2 separate regions of the Homo sapiens genome follow, and region 1 is linked to region 2. The links are contacts of gene promoters, found by promoter capture Hi-C in blood cells and fetal thymus (Javierre and others, 2016). All regions are on one chromosome and are shown on one strand. The core of a region is centred on a gene start or on the middle of the fragment in contact, and the rest is flanking DNA. Distances in the headings are between cores, read along the strand shown. Region 1 overlaps LOC124909439. Region 2 holds the start of MRAS (muscle RAS oncogene homolog).

Evidence for each region. Contacts are between HindIII fragments. The CHiCAGO score rates a contact against its expected background, and 5 or more counts as called.
Region 1: a fragment that was not itself captured here is called in contact with the fragment with the promoter of MRAS in region 2 in 1 of 17 cell types (naive CD8 T cells); the score reaches 5.3 in naive CD8 T cells.

Annotation. Positions count from the first base shown.
Region 1 is chr3:139,318,504-139,322,413 of GRCh38, forward strand. The region is part of intron 1 of LOC124909439; the gene reads right to left. Among named protein-coding and RNA genes, the nearest start is that of MRPS22, 24 kb to the right of the region's middle. The HindIII fragment of the contact is 2,515 bases long and covers 398-2,912 here.
Region 2 is chr3:138,346,797-138,350,673 of GRCh38, forward strand. It overlaps MRAS (muscle RAS oncogene homolog), which reads left to right and starts at 1,783. Exons shown (of 6, transcript NM_001085049.3): 1 at 1,783-1,971. RefSeq lists an enhancer at 1,295-2,250. The HindIII fragment of the contact is 4,446 bases long and covers 1-3,352 here.

The DNA of each region.
Region 1 (3,910 bases), core at 405-2,904, 970 kb after region 2:
ATGCCCTAGAGGTGAGTGGAGGACCAAAGGAGACCCTAGAAGCCCCAGATCTGAAGCCGACTCTAATTGCAACAGCTCCGTTGCTTGAGTAGTGGCCAGACACCTGGCACTGTGCCAGGGCTGTCATGCCTGGACTCATCCAAGCCTCCTAATAAATCACTGAGGGTGGGCATACTAATGTTAGCCTATAGGTTTGACAAACAATAAAATAAAACACAGAAAGATTGAGTACTTTGCCCAATGTCCCACAACTAGCCCACAGCAAAGTTAGGGTTTTAACCTACAGCTGTTTGGATACAAAGCCAGTGCCCCTAATCCCTGGGTGTACCACAGCTTAGAGATCAGACCAGGTGCAGCCCCATCATAGAGAGGAGAGATAGTCATTAGGGGACCTGAAAGCTTGGGGTACAGGTCTCCCCAGTGGAAGGCTGGCTCAGAGGAATTCCACATGTGGATGTGGGCCCGGGATCGCCGTTCAGCAGCTGCATATCCAGAGGACGACTGAAAGGGGAGGAACAAGGCACACAGGTGGGAGTCTCCTGCTGCTGACCACCCAGGATGGACCTGCCTGGGGAAGGCTGGAGGATTTGGCAGGGGCGAGGGAAAAGCAACTCACACTTCAATGCAAGAGCTCATCCCAACACCTTTTGAGACTGGGGTGTGGTCTCATTCTCTAGGAATCAGCGACTCAAAGAGGGACTCACAGAGGTGGAATGGTGGCTGGCTCATGGTCACCACAGTAGAGAAGCTAGTTTCAGAAGAAAACTGCAAATAAATCTTGGAATGTTCCATCTGGGACCTCAATGGCTTTGTCCTGGGAAGGTTTTGGCCAAAAAAGAGGGTGCTGTGTCTGAGATGAGGAGAGAGGTGTGAATGTCCAGCTCCTTGGGCTCTGCTCTTCTTGTCCCTGGCTGGAGCTCCTGACTCAGGCAGGCAGGGGCATCGCAGGACCCATGGGTGCAGAGCCCAGAGCCAGGACCTCAGTTTACTCTGGTTGTCTTCCTGCCTATCTGGGCTGAGATGGGGATCCAGCTCAGCAGCATGTACGGTGTCCCCCACATACCCCAGTGTCACAACTGCTCCAGCTCGGCTTCCTCAGCAGCCCTGGCTCCATGCTTAGGACCCGTGGTGGGTCCCTGGTATTCACTATGATGCTGCCTGCCCAGCCCTCTGCCCCTGCTCCAGTGCCCAACACACCAAACTTGTCAGCCCGGCCTCTGGGGCTGGCACCTGTCCAGTGTTTCCTTCTAACCCCCACCTGGGCACTGGCCTCAGAGTCATATGCTCCTGGGTTAAAAACTCTGCCACTTACTAGCTATACTCGCTGGGCAAATGACTTTATTTGTGGTGCTCGTTATTAAGCCATTGTCTCTCAGCTTCAAACCAGCGTCCCTCTGTGATGTTCTGGGATCCCACAAATCACCAGTATGCCTTGCCAGAACTCCTTGTTAGGCTCTGCCAAGAGGGGGCACTAGAGGGAGCCTGCAACACTGGTGGATGGAGAAGGGGTCAGCTCCTTTGTGTCTGTTTCCTGTTCTGTTGGCAACACCCCAGCAATGCAATGGCCCTGCACCCCAGCAGCAGCCGCTGGTTCCAGCTGTCAGTTTCCTCCCCATTCGCAGACCTGTCCCATGGGGTCCTCTGAGAGACACCCCCTCAGAAATCTGGGCCTCAGCCTTGCAGCCCCCTCCCAAGTGTCCACATCTTTATAAGCCCACACTCTCACCCTTGTTCCCTCAGCCCTAGGGGCTGTTACTGACCCTGAGGATCTTTTCATGTGCTTATTTGCCATCCCTGTATTTTCTTTGAAGTGTCTGCTCAAATCATTTGCCTATTTTAAACAATTAGATTACTTCCTTATTATTGACTTGTAAGAGGGCTTCATATATTCCTGCTGTTACTACCTCTGATGTCTCAGCATTCCCCTTTGCCTTTCTGTTCTGCAAGCCCTGGTTAACAGTGCCTTATATGAAATTCGCTTTGTCAAAAAGACATTTTCTGTCTCCCAACAGACATACTAGTCTGTGCCTCCGATTCCTCATCCATCAAAGGGGAACAGTGACTCCACCTCACAGGTGGCAGTGAGGAGTCAGCCAGAAGATGCCTGTGAAGGGCATCATGGCCCAAGGCCTGGCACCGAGGTAGGACCTGGTTCGAGTGGCTGAAGACTCAGCAGCTTCAACAGGGTCCCTATCGTGAGCCCCCAGAGCTGTGCCTTCCTGTTTGCTTTAGGCCAAGGGAAGAAGCAGAGTGCCTCTGTGGGCTCCTCTCAGCTGACGCAGAGGCGGTTTTTCCAGCCAGCTTCTCTCCTTTGAGAACTCGTGCGATAAAGGAGAACCTGGGCAACCCTGGAGTGAGGCAGGGTGAGGAGAACTGGCCCTTCTTACATGGCCTAATAGTCACATTTAAGAAGTACCCTAATGAGAGATTTTTTAAAAGTCTGGTTTTCAAATTTCACTGTTAAGAAACAAAAGGGCAGGCCATAAACTGGAGGGAATTAACTCAATGTTAAGTATACAGACAACTTAAAAAAAGCAGAAGATTTGAACAAACACTTCACAAAAGAAGATATCAGAATGGGCAGCAGGCACATGAAAAGATGCCGAATGTCATTAGTCATAGAGAAATTCAAAGTAAACTACAATGAGATATCACCACCTCCTCTCCCACTAGAATGGCTAACATTAAAAAGACAGAAGATTCTGTGCTGATGAGGATGTGGAGCAATTAGTACCCTCATACTTTGCTGGTGGGTTGCAAAAAATAAGACCATTTTAGAAAATTGATTGGCAGTTTCTTATCTAGTTAAACAGAGGCTTATCATATGACCCAGCAATCTCCTTCCTGGATATTTACCTGAGAGAAATGAAAACATTTGTCTGTATAAAGTCTCCTTTGCAAATAGTCATAGAAGCTTTATTCATAATAGCAAAAACCTAAAAATAGCCCACACGTCCATCAATAGGTGAAGGAATAAATAAATCATGACATATTGGCACAATGGAATACTAACTCATTGGTGAAATCAATAAACAACCTGTATACACAATAAATCTCAAAATCATGCAGAGTGAAAGAAATCAGACATCGAAGAGTACATGCTGGGTTATTCCATCTATATGAATCTCCAGAAAAGACAAATCCGTTCTATAATGACAGGAAGTAGCTCCGTGGCTGCTCAGAGGCAAGGCTGGGGTGGAGCACTGATGGGGAAGGGGAGCAGGGTACCTAGAGTGATGGGAGTGTTCTGTACAACAGCTGTATACATTCCCCAAGGCTTACCAAAGGGTACATCTAACATGGATGCGTTTTATTATGTGTCAGTTGCACCTCAATAAAGTTGATTTTTAAAATGTCACTTAGACATGAAACAGTCTTCATAAGACTGACATACAAGGAAGGGACCCATCACCACAGAGAGCCTCCAAATGGAGCCTCCTTTGAAGGAAACCCCCTTCAAACACCCCTGTGCTGAGCATTTTCTGTGTACACCCACTCTCCTGCCATCCTGTTCTGTGTCCAGAAGTTTGACCAGAATGGACTGCATAAAGACTCTCTTGTCCACTGTGTTCTTGTTAGATTAGACCAATGCAAGGTACCAGCAGGAGATCTAAGGGCAGGGGATAAATGGGTGGGAGTTATTTATTCCTCTAGCAGATCCTGCAGGGTTGTGGCAGGCTGCTCATGTCCCTGGACTGAAGGTCACAGCTCCCTCCAGGCACCCCTGCCTGGACCATGCTCCCCTTCCAGGTTCTGGTAAACCTTTCATCCTCCCACCCTTTCAGAATCTGTACTGTCCCTGAGGTGTCCCTAGATCTCACTCATGAGGTCCGAGGTCATGCTATTTGAATAGTTATTAAATTCCCTTCAAGTGATCCTAAATCGAATGTGCCATCTCTTGCCTGCTCGG
Region 2 (3,877 bases), core at 533-3,032:
GGAGTGGGTTCCCTGGACATGTAAAGCTGGTTCTAAGTCATTGAGGTCCACCCAGAAAAAGAATGTCCTCAGAAATGATGCTGACAATCAAAACCACAATGAAATGCCATTTCGCCCCCAATAGGATGACTAGAATAAAAAAAGACACACAATTACAAGTGTTTGCAAAGATGTGGAGATATTGGAACCCTCATATGTTGTTGGTGGGAATGTAAAATGGTGCAGCTGCTTTGGAAAACAGTTTGGCAGTTCCCCCAAAAGTTAAACATGGAGTTAACATATGATCCAGGAATTCCACTCTTAGGTATATACCCAAGAGAAAGAAAAGCATATGTTCATACAAAGACTTGTACATGAATATTCATAGCAGCTTTATTCACAGTAGCCCCAAAGCAGAAAACTAAATATCCATCAAGTGATGCAGGGATAAACAAAACGTATAGACATACAGTGAAATATTACTCAGTCATGAAAAGGAATGAAGTACTGCTACATGTTACAACATGAATAGATCATTAAACATTGGTTACTGAAAGAAGCTAGTCATAGTCACAAAAGGCCACATGTTGTATGATTCCGTTTATAGAAAATGTCCTGAATAGGGAAATCCATAGAGATTGAAAGTAGATTAGTGGTTCCCAGAGGCGGAGGAAAGGGGTGAATGAGGAGTGACTGCTAACGGGTAGTTCTTTTTGTGAGGGGCAGGGGAGGGGAGTGGGAAGTGGTGAAAATGTTCTGGAATTAGCTCATGGTGATGGTTGCAAAACTTTGTGAATATGCTAAACACCACTGAATCGTACACTTTTTTTTTTTTGAGACAGCGTCTCACTCTGTTGCCCAGGCTAGAGTGCAGTAGCGCAATCTCGGCTCACTACAACCTCTGCCTCCCGGGTTCACGTGATTCTCCTGCCTCAGCCTCCCGAGTAGATGAGATCACAGGCACGTGCCGCCATGCCGGGTTGACTTTTGTATTTTTAGTAGAGACGGGGTTTCACCATGTTGCCTAGGCTGGTCTTGAACTCCTGACCTCAGGCGATTCACCCGCCTCGGCCTCCCAAAGTGTTAGGATTACAGGCGTGAGCCACCGCGCCCGGCTTGAATTGTACACTTCAAAAGGTGGAATTTTATGGTGTTGAATTATATCTTTATTTTTTTAACGGGGGGAAAATGACGCCGCTGGAGAGGAGTTAGCGGAACTGAAACAATGAAATGGTGCGCGAGTGTCGCCTGTCCCCGTCGCATCCATCCCAACGAAGTTTGGGCCCTGGAACGGTGCACCCAGAAGGCCTGCGGGGAGAGACGCTGGGGCATGATCTGGAAGAAAGACGTCTCAGGATTCGAAGGGAATGCAGCTAAGGTGGCGGCGGAGGTTCGCCTAGGACTGGGGAGGCGTCCCTAGGCTCAGAAGTTGGCCCGGCCGGAGCGGAGATTTAAAGGTTGGAGCGCAGAGGCTCTTAAAGAGGCCGAGTCGAATTCCCACTCGGCGTCCACCTTAAAGCCAGCTCCCCGGCACCACGGATCTGACCCGGGTAAGTGCTGGGCCGCGGGAGAGGCTGCGGCGCCGACCCCAGCCCCTGGCGCTCTAGCGCGCCCTGCCGGGCCCAGGGGACTCGGCGCGGGTGGGCTGGACTTCGTAGGCGCGCGTCCTGGGGGCCGGGGTGCACGCGGGGGCGACAGGGTCGAGGCACCCGGCCCGGGCTCCCCACTGGCGCGCCCGCAGCGGCGCTCTATTTTTAGCAGGCGCTGTGGCAATATAAGGAATGCGCGGCGCGCTAGGCGCTCGGGGCGCACGCTGGCGGCGCGGTCGCTTTAAGGAGGCGCCGGGGCGGGGACGGACCGGAGTGGCCGGCTGGCGGGGAGCCGTCAGTCCGGCGGCCGCGGGGCCCGGCGGGCGCGACGCTGCCTCCTCACCGGCGCAGGCTAGGAGGGGGCGGCCTGAGTGCCGTAGCCGAGCCGGGGCTGGAGCGCGCGGTGAGTGGTCGGGCGGCCTTGGAGGGGAGGGGGCCCGGCCGCGCCGCCTCTCGCCCCGGCCGTCGCTTTGTTCCGGGGCGGGAGGTGTGGCCGCCCTCCGGGCTCGGCCGCGCTCTCCGCTTGCGGGGTGCGCCCTGGGACCGGCTGTGCGTGGCGTTTTGCCCCCATCGCGGGCTCCCGCGTAACGGTGTGCGTTCGTGAAATCGGCCACGACCAAGACCCCAGTGGGGAGGGCCTGCGCGCCGCTCAGAGAGACCCTTTCATGGTAATTACAGTTCCTTGGCTGCCTGGGCGAGAACCCGGTGGATAGATGGGCGGCAGGACGGGGCGGCGGGGGATGGGTGGGTGGGTGGGGGACTCTTTACCCCCCCGCCTTAAGATGGCGTTAACGAGGGGAGGGATCCGCCAGGGAGTTGACAAATTCATCTGAATAATAAAACGCAGCCTGCTTCATAAACAACCCTTCACTGCCCCCGGAGGTTTGGGGAGCTGGAGCTGTGGTCACAACTAGGGCCTGGGCTCATGCATTGAACTGATCTGGCTGAGGCATCAGACACGGTGCCAGTCCTGCCCTGCGGGGAAGACAAGAGCACAAAGTGACAAGCCAGTGTGGTAAGTGCTGAGATTCGGTAAGCCCAGGGGTTGTGGGAGCCCCTAGGGGTCCCTACTGCAGAGTGGGAGGTGAGAGAAGGCCGCCTAGAGGAGTTAATGTCTGGCTGGCCGCAGCGTATACACTGGACACCCAGTTAGACTCTGGCTAGAGCTGAGGTCTGTTCTGGCCTGGGGCAAAGTGGAGTCTGGAGAGGTGGACAGAGTCCATCAAGGCCACTGGGGCCTTGATCATAGAGCTCTGCCATTGCCCCTACTCCCCAATGGCCCCTGATGGTGTGGAACCTCCCTGGCCTTGCTCCTCTAGGACTCACTCTGTCCTGGACCTGACCAGAGAGGGTGGCTGACAAGGCTCGGAATCGTGGCCTCCAGAGGTTTGTCTGGCAGCAGAAGTAAGATGGAGATATGACTTTAAGAGCTCTGAAACTCCACTGTAATAACAGCAACCAACAGGGCTTCCAAAGACCAGGCACTTGAAGTGGATTTGCTCATCATTTGACAAGACACCTCTTGACAAGACACCTCCAGAAGGATTTTGTTTATTGTAAAGGATGGAGGAACTGGGGTGAAAAAGAGCCAACAGCTTGCCCAAGATCATATCTGAAGTCCATGCTTTTGGCCACGTGGCTGTCCTGGGCTTCGGAAGGCTCTGGTGCAGCCTGTGTTAGAGTTTTGTAATATATTGTTTTATAATTATTCACTATAGACATTCACTGGTGGGTTGAAGTGTGAGGCAGTGAGCTGTGGGTATTAATAACTGACTCGTGTCAGAAGCTTAGCAGTGAACAAAGCACTTTCTCGGATACGGTTCTTAGAGCTTCTCCTGCTTCTTTTCCCGGGGAAGAAACTTGAGCTGCTAACATTTTGTAAACCTCCTAATTTCCTGTAAATCACATGTCCCTGCTGAGTGGGGCTGAAAATGTTTCGGGCAATGGTTTTCACCCTTAGGTCTGTTCACACTGCCCAGCAGCCAGTTAGCTTCTCTCTGTAGTTTATGGTGTAGTTTGTCCTTTTTCTGCCGGGGTGGGAGGCATGGGGCTTTCATGCTCTGGGGTTTTTGAGGTCTGCCAGCCTCTGGGGAGGGAGGTGTTGGGCAAGCCTCGTGCTCTGGTGGAAACTGACCCCCTAGATGTGACCTCGGCATTTCCTAAAGCTGGGGGCGGGACTGGGGTAGGCGGTAGTCAAGGCCCTTTGGTGAAGCAAGCGATTGTCTCCAGCGTTGTCAGCTTCGCTCCTCCATAAGACAGTTGCTAATTTCCACCTCTGTTTTCACCTACATAAGACACTTTATGACAGG